Regions from separate parts of the Homo sapiens genome. Here all the other regions are linked to region 1. The links are contacts of gene promoters, found by promoter capture Hi-C in human tissues and cell types (Jung and others, 2019). All regions are on one chromosome and are shown on one strand. Each heading gives the region's core, a stretch centred on a gene start or on the middle of the fragment in contact. The rest is flanking DNA. Distances are from core to core; before and after follow the strand shown. Region 1 holds the start of ZNF365 (zinc finger protein 365). Region 2 has its middle 200 kb from the start of REEP3. Region 3 holds the start of LINC00845 (long intergenic non-protein coding RNA 845). Region 4 has its middle 240 kb from the start of REEP3.

Region 1 (3,451 bases), core at 567-3,066:
GGGAGGCTGAGGCAGGAGAATCGCTTGAACCCAAGAGGCAGAGGTTGCAGTGAGCTGATATCGCGCCACTACAGCCTGGGAGACAGAGTGAGACTCCGTCTCAAAAAAAAAAAAAAAAAAAAAAAAGGGGCGGGGGGGAAGGGAGGACCAGAGCATGCTTTTGTTATGTTTTGCCATGAAGGCAGTGGGTGTAAGAGGTTAACCTGCAGGCACCTCACAAGATGACGGAGATAACTTGGCACTCCAATGAGTGTATCTTTCAGACTTTAAGATTTTGTACTAAATAAATTGATTCTTGGAATAGTCTTGAGAGCGAGTCAAAAAGTAACTTCAATGAGATATAATATTTTCAAAGCAAACACACCCCAGCACAATAGCCTATCTCCATTTACGTAGAAGTTAGTACATATTAATTCCTCTTCTCCTTCCTGCTTTTTAAATGTGTGTAGGCCCCTTTTTTATGGAATTAATAATAATTATAAATGAAGTAGCAACAACGATAACAGCTGACTTTATCAGTGTGTGTCCCTGTCAGGCAGGGTTTTTACCTCCATCATCATAGCACATTCGATCCACCGCTATATTAAGAGGTAGGTCTTGATTATCTTCATTTCATAGATGAGGAATTGAAGGAACAGAAAAGTCTAGTTACTTGACCCAGGCCCTAGAACCAGGATTTGAATCAAGTCTGATGCCAGAGCTTGGGATCTTCATTGCATTTGATGTGATAATTCATTTGTGAAAAAACAAAGCAATTCATTTGTTTTCATTTGTCAAAAACAAAACAAAATTTCAACTAAGATAACTGTTGAGCTCTTTACCGTTAAAATAAAATCGGGTGTTGAAATGAGTAACAGCAAGCCTTGAGAAAAGACACCCTGAGAAGTCAAGAGGATGCATTAACTGTCTACAGATGAACAGAATCTCTTCTCTTCTTTGAACAAGAAAACCCAGCAGTAACTTTTATCTAGGTTTCACATTTCAGGAGTTACAGTAGGGGTAAACCAAAACAGGTTAAAAAAAAAAAAAAAAAAAAAAAAAAGCAAAAGCCCAGCAAGCTGAGACATCAGAGTCCTTCAGAAGGAATGATTTGCCGTCTTCTCTTCAGGACATCCCCTCTTTAGGAGGACAAATTTTTTCTCCAGGGAAAGGGGCGTCCGCCTCAGAAATGGGGGTGTAGGTGAGGGATCTTGTTGCTTTAACTGTTTGTTCATTAATCCCTGCACTTTACTAGATTTAGTTCTGCCTGTTAACGTAGCCTCAGGACACTTGGCTAGGAAGGCTGGAGTGTACTCTCTGGGTTAGTTATTTTGGGACATTCTCGCCCTGCTGCTTGGGATGAAGAGGTCCTAATTAAATACCCGGACCTTCCAACGGGTAGATTTTCAAAGAAGATGCCCAGCTATGCTGCATCCTCATCCACACTCTCCCGCTCCCCCCAAACTAGTGCAAAAAAGCTTGCCAGGGCCTGCAGAAAGCGCCGCGACTGCGAGGCTGACACGCGTCTTTCCTTCCCTCCCCCGGGGAATGATCCCAGCATCTCTCGCAGTGATGTCAGTGTAATCCTGAGTCGGATCGGGCTCCCGGCTGGGTGGCGGGGGGGCAGATGATGCTCCCGCCAGCTGGGCAGAGCAAGGGTGTTCCCCGCGGAGGTGGCAGCCCTGGGCCGCGGCGTTCCGGAACCCCCGCACCCACGGCGCGGTGCCCCACGGTGCCCGCGAGCGCCGCCCCCGCTGGCTAGCCGCGCCTCGCTCCGCCCTGGACGCCGCCGGTCCCGGCGCGGAGGTGCGGCGGGGAGTGGGAGCCGGCCCGGCTCAGTCTGATTTACGGCTCTGCTGAAAACCGCTTCGCTCCCGCAGCATCAGCACCGGAGGCGGCGGCTGCAGCAGCAGCAGCAACAAGTCGGGTAAGAGGCGGCCGCCGGCCATCTGCGCCCGCGGCTCGGCGGAGGGGACCTGCCGGGGTGGCCGGGGCTGGGGAGGGGGTCCCCGAGCCCGCAGCATGGCGGGGAGTTGGGAGAGCCGGCTTCCCGGCCCCCACCAGCAGGAACTCATGTGCACACGAATCCACTCTGGCACCCGTGGGCTGGCACGCAGCGGAGAGGGGGCGGGGAGAGCTGGGACCCCGGGGCAGGGTCATTGCCAGCCTGCCCTTCTCTGGCAGAGTCACTTAGGGCTCTTCATCAGCCCAGTGGACTGGGTTTCCTCTGGGCCCATAAAAGCCTGCGTGCTCTGGAGTGTGTGATTACCCATTTCCCCATCCAAAATGCCACCCTTTTCCCATTGCCCCCTTAGAATCCTGACTTCCCCTTTCCTTACCTCTTGTCAGCGTCTTTGGCCCTATGCTGAGCCAGGGTTTGCATCTCGTTCCCAGAAAACCAGTGGTTAAACATCCCGGTGTACCCATCACAGGAAGAGGTTCCCCTCTCTGGGGGCCGGGGGCTTCACCTAGAAGCCTTGCCTGCCTCGCTGCCTGGGGACCATTTGCACCTCTGCTTTTGAAGAGGTTGAGGACACTTTTCACCCAAAGACCCCAGCTGGGCTCCCTCATTTCGGGTCCAATGCTTGTTACATTTAAGTAGAAACCTTTCATGGAGGAATAGAAGATATGCACTGCTTGCAGAATTGGGTTGCCAACAGTCATCTGTTGCTAGGGTGAAGATAATGCATTCCTACAAGGAAACCAGAACTTCCTGTTATTAAGAGAGTATGCTGATACCTACCTGGTTCACACACTGACCATCCCTAGAGGTTGTCATATAAAATAGCATCTGAGACAAGACAAATCCGTCCAGAACACTCTATTATAATAAAAATCTTGGCCATGGCCCCACTTATGCCAAATGGTATTTGACACATTGGGTCCCCAGGTTTCAGTGAAACTCACGTATGGGGTCTGTTATTGTTACGATTAGCACTTTGGTTTATGTCATCACAGCAATACCTGAAGGAAAAAAAGGCAAAAATTTCAGGGTGAAAAATTTTCAGCTGATTGCAGGCTTAATGCCACTGTGCATAGCTTGAGTAATCTTTCCTGTACTTGAGGATAGGTCCTGAGCTTGCTGTCTTAGGACCCATTTTGACAATTCATGTGAGTTTTCATATGTTCTTGTGTTCACGCATCTCGGATTGTATCCTTAAAATGGGGCACGGTTTTGCATTTAGTGTGCCAAATTCAGGAGGGGAGGAAACTTGAATTCCACTTCTGGATCTACCACTTTCCATCTGACCTTGGATTAATGGCTTTACTTCCTTGCTTCAGTGTTCTCTTCTGTGGAGAGGGAATGTTACCCACCTTTTTGATTCTAGGTAGGAGTTGGCAAACTTTTTCTGTAAAGGTAGTAAATATTTTAGCTTTTAGGAGCATAGAGTCTCTGTCTCAGTTACTCACCACTGCCATTGTGGTTTACAATAAATAATACAGAAATTGATACGGCAGCAGTAAATAATGC
Region 2 (3,641 bases), core at 1,112-3,611, 1.3 Mb after region 1:
TGTGGCTTTGGAACTTTGTGAAGCTCTTAGCGGACCATCTGCCTAGACATGTCATACAGATTTTCCTTCCACTTCTGCACAAGCCAGATGTGGGGAACTAGAGAGTCCTATAGCTCCCAGATTCCACCCAAAGGGGAGCAGGATACTCAGCTCTAGAATCCCCAAACGTGTTTGGACATTTTATTATTCCTCCCTGTGACCCCAAATATAGGGCTCAGCTTAAGATAAAAGTAGGTTAGACCCAGGGTCCCTTTTCAGAAGCCCACTGGTGTCTTCACTTTTCTTTCAAATCTCTCCATTCTGCTCTATCAGATAAATCTTCTGAGTCTTGGGAGCAGAGGAAGCTCTGTCCTAACAGGGCAGGTTTCCTTCTACACCTTTTATCTCATTTCTGGGGCCTAAGCTTTAGGAAGATTCTGTTTTCTGGATTATGTTGTATCCTCCCTTCTCTGAGGCAATTAAGGCAGAACCTCATGAAGTGATAAACAGAATGCAGTAAATGGACAGAAGTGTCTGTTAATACTTTAGAATTTCACCTGCCATTTAACTAGCAGCCAATATTGTCAAATACTTGTCTTTTAGGAGTTTCTTCAGTCAATAAATCAGCCTGGTTTGTCATGGTGCAGTGGACAGGTCACTGGCTTGTGATTTGGAAGGTTTGTGTTCTACTCCTAGTTTACTCGTCGTTTTTGGAAGCAGACCCTCTATGTCAATAGCAAAGGGCAATTCCAAGTGGTAGTGTTCGTCTGTTTTTATCTGTGGACTTTGATTCTGCTGATTGTGTGACATTGGGAAATTGACCTAGATTTCATGCTTCAGTTTTTACTGTATATTTCCATAGCATGCTCTATCTCAGACTCAGGGAACTTATGTGAAGTGATAATAATGGTTAATATTTAAATAGAATCTCTAAAGAAAAAGTATTGTTTCTAGTACTTTATGTGTATGAATTCATTTGTGACTCATTCATAAGGTAGATCATGAGGTATAATCTAAAGTAGGGCTAGGATTTAAGCTTACACAGTCTGGTTCTAGGTCTGTGCTATTAATTATTAAGCCAGACAACCTCTTATAATAGGGAATAATTTGAAGGAGAGAAATGAAAAATGCCCTGCAATTATTCGAGTACTTTCCTAGTCTTATTTATAAATACCAATCTTTCAAAAGTAAACTGGGCCTCAATTCTGCTGAAACCATCTCAAATTTCAGATGAGGAATAGCTGAATGGATGCTAATACTGCAGTGATTACAATTATTAAACTATTCATTTTTATAAAATGAATAATGAATACACTTTAACCCACCTCCTTTCAAAAATGGTTTCAGGTCACAGATCAGTATAAGCAACTCAATTTTAATTCCAGCTTAGAAATAATAATTCAAAAATAGTATTTACTAAGTAATTAAGTAAGGGTTCTTTTAATTTTTTCGCCTTATGCTCATTAAATTATTTTAACCCTGGCCAGACTAATTGAAATTTAACTGCATGATAAAACTTTACCGCCATCTAGTGTCAGTCAGGAGCATTGCAGGAGTGTTGCTTTTTGAATCTGTTTTGGTAGCTACCTGCCGTATCTATGGCAATATTAAGCGGCACTCCCAGGTGGCACTCTTTGACTCCTATACCAGCGACCTTTGATTTTATAGATTATTCCAATAATTTGAGTTCAGAGGAACTAATTTCATGGCATTTCTTATTTCTAAATCCTGGTTTATTTTATGAGTGTGCTCTCAGGGGAATATAAGAATCTTTCATCCAAGTCAGGGATAGTTTCTAAATTCTCTGAATGTCCTCACCCCTAAGAGCTCTTGTTACTTTAGCTTCAAGATGGTAAACGTGGGGGAAAACTTTGTGCTATATATTTAAATTATTATGAGTTTTTTTTGTATATCAAGTATTTATGTGTACACTATAATAGTTATCTACTGCTGTGGGATAAATCGCCTCAAAATGTAGCAGCTTAAACAGCAAAAATTTATCTCACACTATTTCTGAGGGTCAGGAAGCAGAGAGTGGTTTAGCTGGGTGGTTCTGGCTAAGGGTATCTCGCAAGGTAAGTCAAGTGTGAGATGAAGCTGCAGTCATCTCAAAGCTCAACTGGAGCTGGAGAATCTGCTTCCAGACTCACCCGTGTTAGCAGGTTTTGGTTTCTTGCTTGCTGTCGGCTAGAAGCTCAGTTCCTTGACATGTGGGACTCTTCACAGGACGTGCTTCCCCTAGAGCAAGAGGAGAGGGGAAGAGAGTGAGAGACAGAGAGGAAGCCACAGTCTTTTAAAATAATCTAATCTTACTCTCATATGTTATTGATCAACCAAACCAGCCCTGGTCCCCTTGTGTGGCAGAGAATTACAGAAGCTTGTGAATAACAGTAGGTGGGGATCCTTGGGGCCATCTTGAAGGCTGGTGACTACACCCACCATCAAGCTTTATTAAATAGTAATGTTTTGCCTGATTTGGGTAACTGCTTCATAACATGAGTTTAGCCCAAGGCTAAATTCTGAGAGGTACAAATGGGAAACAACTTTTTCTCCCTTGGTTGCTTTCAACCATACTATGCTAAATCTCCCTTCTGTGCTCTGTAACTTCAATCTCTGGTAGATTTCATAGCTTTTGGCTCACATTCAGCTGTAACAAGAGTCCTTGTTTGTTTGTTTCTTATTTTTAATACATGGTTTCTTATTTTTAATACATGGTTTCACTCTGTTGCCTCACTGCAGCCTTAACCTCCTGGGCTCAAGTGATCCTCAATCTCAGTCTCCGGAGCAACTGGGACTACAGGAATATGCACCATACCTGGCTAATTGTGTGTGTGTGTGTGTGTGTGTGTGTGTGTGTGTGTGTGTGTGTGTGTATTTGGTACACATGAGGTCCCACTATGTTGCCCAGGCTGGTCTTGAATTCCTGGGCTCCTGCCTGGGCCTCCCAAAGTGCTGAGATTGCAGGCATGAGCCACTGTGCCTAGCCCCTGTTTTCAGGTATTAAAAATGTTAGTCTGGGCTGGGCATGGTGGGTCACGCCTGTAACTCCACTACTTTGGGAGGCTGAGTGGGAGGATCACTTGAGGCCAGGAGTTTGAGACCAGCCTGAGCAACCTAGCAAGACCCTGTCTGTATTAAAAAAAAAAATTAGCTGGGTGTGATGGTGCATGCCTATAGTCCCAGCTACTTAGGAGGCTGAGGTGGGAGGATCACTTGAGCTCAGGAGATTGAGGTTACAATGAGCTATGAGTGCACCACTGTCCTCCAGCCTGGGTGACAGAGTGAGACCCTGTATTAAAAAAACAAAACAAAACAACGCCCTCCCCAGCCAAAAAAAAACTTAGTCCAATCTCATATATAGCTTGAATCTTCTCTCCTTAACTCTTCTTACTTCTGACTCTGAGGAAGGAGAGCATGACTGTTCTTTCAGTGTTTTTCTGACTATTTCTCATCTCTTTCCTGCTTTCTAATTCCTCTAGTATAGAATCCAGCATGCAGATCAGAGAAAGAGGAGCAAAGTGTCACTGTACTTAGCTGGTATTGTATGTGATTCTCTCATGGATAATACTGGCTGGGACTCATTCCCTCTGTTAATCTGAGAATTCACATAGAGCTTCTCCAGGGCACCCTGTGGGGATGCAGGGGGTTCCTCCTATTCTGGT
Region 3 (3,199 bases), core at 381-2,880, 1.4 Mb before region 1:
AAGAAAACATTGAATAGTAAAATGACATCTCTATAAACTCTGTCCAGGTGGATTTTGTACATGTGGGCACCAACTTTTTTCATTCCATAAAAGAAGATAAGTCTTTGATTATAAGGATTCTGTCTGTTTTGCTTTCTCAATATGCAATGCCTAATAAATTATTTTATGGTAGTAATGTATTCATTTTCCACCTATAACATGCTTTGTGAGTAGAAACTGTAGACCTTGGAATTTATTGCAGGGAGTACCTGGAATTCTGAAACCATAATGTTAGAGTGCCAATATGAGAGCAAGTATTTGACCTTAAGAGGATATCCAAGCTTGAAGAGATGACAGCCAGAGATCTTAATATCATTAAATATTAGTAAATTAAAATCTGATCCTTCGTCTCCCACTTACTCCATTATTTCCTAGGATAGAACGGATTGCTAAAGGTACAAAAATCTGTTTGTTTTTAGGCTTTTATGCTTTGGTCTTTTTACCTTATACTTTAATATCTTTCTTGCGCCTCTCTCCATTATTAAAAAGGATGCATTACCTATACTTAAAAAATTATGTTACAGTTATGCCACTTCCCTCCTTAAAATGTGGCTCCCATTGCACCTAGAATTAAATTCTCTCAGCATAGCTGGCAAGGCCCTGTAGGACCAACTCTAACTCTATCTACTCTCTTATCACTAAGTTTGGTGATACTAGATGACTTTTCATTTCTTGAAGATAGCTTGCTCATTTTTGACCTTGCATCTGTAAACTTGTAATTCTCTCTGGAATGTTCAGAGCCCAAAATTTCAAATGACTGGTTCCTTCTCAATGTTCCTTTCCTCCCTACCCATCTAATGTGGCCACATACCCCTCCAGTCCTTCCACATCACTTTAACCTATTTTTAAAAGCCAATTTTGAAAATGGGATTATTTATTTATTTACATATTATGACATAATCTCCATTAAAATGCAATTGCCATGAAACTAGAGACCCTGTCTATATGTTCACATCTCTATAATCATTATTTAGCACAGAACCTAGAACATAGTAGGTGCTTGGTAAATATATATTTTTAATGAAAATATGGTGGCAGAAATGATATAAGTAGTAGTTAAAAGTATAGAATTGAGATCTGTGATCAAATCCTGGTCTCTTGCCATTTAATTTTCTCAAGTTTCTTCGCTGCCCCAATCATGATAATATGGTAAATACTCATCAATCAGGCTATGGTGGATATTATTTTGAGGTGATAATATATTAAGTGTTCAGCACATGCCTAGCATATAGCAATTGCTCACTAAATAGTAGCTATAATAGTTTTTCTGCAGAACAGTAGCAGAGCAGGATGGGCTGCAGGCCATTTACACTGAGAATCCTGAGGCATGCCAGGGCGTAAAAACCAGAGAACAAATTCTTTTTGTTTAAGTTCAAAAGTGCAAACATCCAAAGTTCAGAATTTGGGTAGAGTAGGTGAGAGCAAGAAGCAAGGATGAAGGAAAGGGAGAACACTGAAGACAGTGTTTGCTAGTGGGATTTAGTCCATTTTTATTGGCAGGATTGCACGTGAGTAGCTCTATTTGGCTTAAAACTCCAGAAGCAAGGCTAGAAACTGATTCTCTACAGGTGAAACTTACATTACTTTGTTTGTTGATTTTTGAAACTATTTTGGATATTTTATCTATCTTGTTCTAAATAACTAAGAAGAGCCTAATTTGATTATTCTGTGAGGTAAACTATCCTCTTTTATATGTATATGACTCTTCTCAATTTCATACTGAAATTTAGTGACTACACAAACCTTATTTGATCACTTGATGGTAGTTTGTTCTAAGTTATATAGGCACAGTGCTTAGGGCTATAGCAAAATAATGGACAAAAAAATCTCTTTTGAAAACAGTTTAATCTTTGATGTTTTAAAAAATAAGAAAGAGAAATAAGGAACAACAGTGTAGTTATAAGAAAAAACATCTAAACTTGGTTAGAATTCCTTACTCATATTTATGACTTTGCTTTGCCATATTGAATTACATATAGATAGAGGGATCAGGGCCAAACAAAATATCTCCAGGGCTTGGTTCTCCAAAGGCTTTAATCCAATCCTCTCTAGACACATTTTTATAAAACAGGATTGAAGATTTTAGATCTCAAATCTCAGGTCCCAGTTGCAAATTTTCAGTCTCCAACCCTAACTAACTCTTCCTTAAGACGAAAACAAACAAACAAAACCAAATACCTACACATCCAAGACTTTTCTGGAAAGGGGGCATATGCTGTGGGGAGGGATGTTTAAATTTTCTGTTTTTAATTTTTTAAACAACTCTCCAAAGTAGAGAAAATTTGAAGAATTAAAAAATTAAAAAGATTATATTCTAATTTCTGATGTCATTTTACTGTAGTTCCATTCAATATTCTTTTTATATGCATTTCTTTAATAGCCTAGTAATAAGCAGAGTATTTGAGGAATTACCAGTTGTTTGGGCCCTGTATGTTTTTGAAGTTAGTTGTAGTCAGGATAGATTAGGTTATTATGAGGTAACAAACAACTCCAATCTCTCAATGCCTTTACACAATAAAAGTTAATTTCTTCCTCATGCAGACCCAGGGGATTTGAATGATTCTTCAGTTGTCTTCCACAAGGTGGCTTGGCAATTTAAGGTCTTTTGATTTTGTTTCTCTGTAAACTCAAAATCTCAATTCAAGGCTTCCTTGATTGTTACAGTAAGAAAGGGGGCTATATGGGCCTTTTCAGTTTTTCAGCCCTGCTCACATTTCACCGGACAGAACTCAGCCCCGTGGTCCTGCCTAACTGCAAGTGCATTGGGAAGTGAGGTTTTCCATGTGCTGTGGAAGGAGCTAGGAACCTGAAATATATAGGCTAGCTATGTCTATCATTCCTCAAATTAATTTTTTTTAAAGCAAAGGATTTAGCTCAGAGCTCAAAATTATTCAAAAAGAGGGTTTGACACGCATACAAGTTTATAACCAGTAGAATTGGATTATTGGCCACTTGAGGATAATTGACAGTCTAAGGATTGTGCAAGGATTGCTTTAAAGAAAATACATTCTTATGGCAGATTTGACATAGCCAACTACATTTTCATAATGTTATTATACTTACGTTCTTCAGCTTCCTTCAGAAAATTGGTTCTTTGCTATTTTGTCTAACCTCTTCACTTGGGCAATGGCCTTTACAAGAATAGATTTAAGTTATTCTG
Region 4 (3,141 bases), core at 324-2,823, 1.4 Mb after region 1:
TAAGCTTTCTTTCCCTCAAGCTTCCAATTGAATTTGGCCAATGGAGAACTCTGGCAGATTAGAGTCAAGCAGATGTGTGAGGGAGGGGTGTTTATTCCACCAGCCCCTTTCCAGAAAGGGCCCTACCTGTAAATAAAGTTCACAGTGCCCACCAGGCAACCCTCTTGACACAGTTTGTGCCATCTCCAGGTGCTGCTGCTTTCTTTGCTTTTTCAAGACAGAATGGTAACACCCCTGGGGTTTGGCACAATCCCTTTTAGTTTTTCTACACTCTGCTCACACTTTTATAAAAGATCCCCTTATTAAACTCAAGTTCCCAAATAGGAGTGCATCATCTAACTCCTGCCACGACCTGAATGATATACCCTTTATAAGCAGAGAAGTAAAAGTCACATTCATGTCAAGTGAAAAATGATTTGGTTCATCTGGGGGCGTTAGCTCAAGAGTTGAGAAGATTTAGGTGAGGCATGTTGACTGTATTCAAAATCAATGCAAAGGGTGGCCACAGGGAAGAGGGAGCAGCATGGTTTTGTGTGGCTTCTTTCAAATCAGAGTTGTTAGGTTTCCAACAAATAGTGCTGTCTAAAAATGAAGCAAGCTGCCCAAAAGGTAATGAGTTCACCATCACTGAAGGTATTCAGCTGGACATCTTTAGTGACATCCACCTGTTAAGGGTTTTTGTGAAGGGGATTCCTTCATCAGATCGTAGGTGAATTAAATTACCTTGAGAGTCCCTTCTTAGAGTTCTATTCATGCAGAAATATTTTTCATTTCCTCTGGCCCATTGCTTTCTCACTGCCTGGCAGACATTTGATGTTGGAACCAGAGGCTATGGGTGCATCTGCTGAGGCCTGGAGACTTTGTATTGTTTGCACTGATTTCCTAGGTCTTCTGGTTCCTCTCCTCCCCCAACACCCTCTGGTGTGAGGGTCATAAATCAGAAGTGGTGAACTGTTCTTTGGTATCTTGTCAGTGGCATGTTGGGTGCATTAAAAGACTTCATGTGCCCCTTTGCCTACATAGACTGGCAAATGTCCCCAGGTAGAAGCTATAGGGAGCAATCTAATGGTGCTCATTACTAAATGTCACAAAGAACTAAACTGCTACTCCCAGAGAAGTAAAATTACATTAGCAACCAGAAATTGCTGAACTTTAACCATTGAGATGAACAGAAAAATTTGTGACATGACATTGCTATTCTTTTTATTATATATGTTTTTCCATTTAAGAAATTGAATTTAAAAAGCCTTCTAGAGTTTTATAGGCTCAATTACGAGCTTCCTTTCCTAATCCTAATTTATTCAGAAGGAATCAAACTCCTTAGAGACAAATTCTCCTACCCTGCAGGGTTTTCTGGACCTACTGTATCTGGGTATAAGTGACAGACAGTGATTTGGCCAACTTACTTTAAAAAAGAATTGACAGGACTGAAGAAAAATCTGAAGACGCAGGCTTGGAATGGGCAATTTGCAGAGCAGTAGAAGCCAAGCATCTTGGAAGGGGATGGCTGGAGGTATAAAGCAGCTCTAATGAAATTTCTGTCTATGAGTCACTCTACTCAAAATGTGAAATTGTGAGGAAGGAGTCCTAACGGGCTCTTTGAGTCTCAAGCCTATCTTTGGTTGGGGAAAGGGCGGGGCACCTTGACTGAGGGTCCGACCAAACCTACACACAGTGGGAGAGGTAATATCCCTGAATACTGGAAAAATGGAAACCACTGCCCACACACCAACTCTTAACGGCAGCCAGGAAATTACCACATGAAAATAAAGATTGAAGCAGGTAATATGGTAGTTCTGAGGCAGGATAGCCTATCCTAGAAAAGTTGATTATGGTTAATGTGGAAAAAGTACTGACACATAGACATGTATTGGAGAAATATTCATTGAGAGAAGCATTAGTTGAAAGGATTAAGATTCTACTGTTCCTCTCAGAGTGGTTTTAGGATTGTCTATGGTGTAATGAGATATTTGCCAGCCCAATGTGGGTCTCGGACAGGAGCTGACAAGCTTTTTCTGTAAGGGCCACATAGTAAATATTTTAGGTTTTGTAGACCATATAGTCTCTGTTGCAACTACTCAACTCTGCCATTGTAGTGTGAAAGTGTCAGACAATATGTAAACAAACGGGGGTGGCTGTGGCCCAATAAAACTTTATTTACAAAAACAGGTGGTGGTGAGGTATGACCCATGGCTGTACCTTGCTGAGCCTTGGTTTAGGGAGATACTTTATTGCTATGGTAGTTTGGTGGAGCCCAGTCAAGGCAGCAATTGTAGGCTCAATGTGAGTCATCAGTTTGCTCAGCAGCTGAGTCTGAGCACATTGGTGATGGGCCCTGGAAGACATGTCTAAAACAGAAAGAAAGCACATGGTAGTTGACCTGGGATTTCCGAGTTCATCCTGGTCCAACTGCTCAGTGATTGAGGGCTGCTAGAGCTCCCAGAGCCTCAGTTTCCTCATCTTTAAAGTGGAGAATATAATTAGAATGCCCCTTATGTTTGTTGTTTATGAGAAATAGACAGCATGGAGCTTAATACGTAGTACTTAGAGCACACACTTTGTTCCTTCTCTTTCCTCCCTTCCTAAAGTCACATAGAAAGCATACATTGCTTCAATAGGTCTTCATTGAAAGATCACTGACATTTCATTCAACTTGGGAAATGTTTGAAAAAAGCCAATGCCGTGTTTTTGAAGATTCTCAGGAGCACAGAATGATGAAAAAGAGGGTGAAGGAGTGGCCTTAGAAGGATGAGGAAAATACCTTGTCTCCCTGTCTTCCCTATCTTCTTTACGTTTCTCTCCAACCGTGGCCTCTTCTCTGGACAGACTCCCTTTGAGGTATGGGCAGTTCTGAGGCATATTCACAAGCAGGAGTTCCTGTGGAGGGAACTCTAAATCAGGCCCTTGGGGTAACAGGTTGGGAATGTAAAAGTATTCAGCCCAGAATGTGATACTGTCTTTGATGCAGGGTAGGCAGGCCCCAAAGTGGAGTTTAGCCCACTGGGTTCTTGGCTTTGTCCAAGAAAGAACTCAAGGGCAAGCCAGAGGTAGAAGGAAACAGCTTTATCGAAGAGACAGTGTTACAGCTCTATGACTGCTCCTGCAGAGCAGGGCTACTGAGTAGGCAGAAAGTAGCAGCTC

Evidence for each region. The method cuts DNA at HindIII sites, captures the fragments that hold promoters and counts their contacts. A contact is called where the count stands out against the background at its distance.
Region 2: a fragment that was not itself captured here is called in contact with the fragment with the promoter of ZNF365 in region 1 in 4 of the 25 tissues and cell types used here (IMR-90 fibroblasts, aorta, hippocampus and 1 more).
Region 3: a contact is called between a fragment that was not itself captured here and the fragment with the promoter of ZNF365 in region 1, in 1 of the 25 tissues and cell types used here (dorsolateral prefrontal cortex).
Region 4: a contact is called between a fragment that was not itself captured here and the fragment with the promoter of ZNF365 in region 1, in 1 of the 25 tissues and cell types used here (spleen).

Annotation. Positions count from the first base shown.
Region 1 is chr10:62,372,553-62,376,003 of GRCh38, forward strand. ZNF365 (zinc finger protein 365) reads left to right here and starts at 1,817. Exons shown (of 5, transcript NM_014951.3): 1 at 1,817-1,906. LOC283045 (a long non-coding RNA gene) reads right to left here and starts at 2,575. Exons shown (of 4, transcript NR_104162.1): 1 at 2,319-2,575. The HindIII fragment of the contact is 5,251 bases long and covers 1-3,451 here.
Region 2 is chr10:63,718,665-63,722,305 of GRCh38, forward strand. No RefSeq gene overlaps it. Among named protein-coding and RNA genes, the nearest start is that of REEP3, 200 kb to the left of the region's middle. The HindIII fragment of the contact is 3,304 bases long and covers 710-3,641 here.
Region 3 is chr10:61,014,795-61,017,993 of GRCh38, forward strand. LINC00845 (long intergenic non-protein coding RNA 845) reads left to right here and starts at 1,481. Exons shown (of 2, transcript NR_108052.1): 1 at 1,481-1,547. The HindIII fragment of the contact is 4,801 bases long and covers 1-3,199 here.
Region 4 is chr10:63,761,706-63,764,846 of GRCh38, forward strand. No RefSeq gene overlaps it. Among named protein-coding and RNA genes, the nearest start is that of REEP3, 240 kb to the left of the region's middle. The HindIII fragment of the contact is 3,122 bases long and covers 13-3,134 here.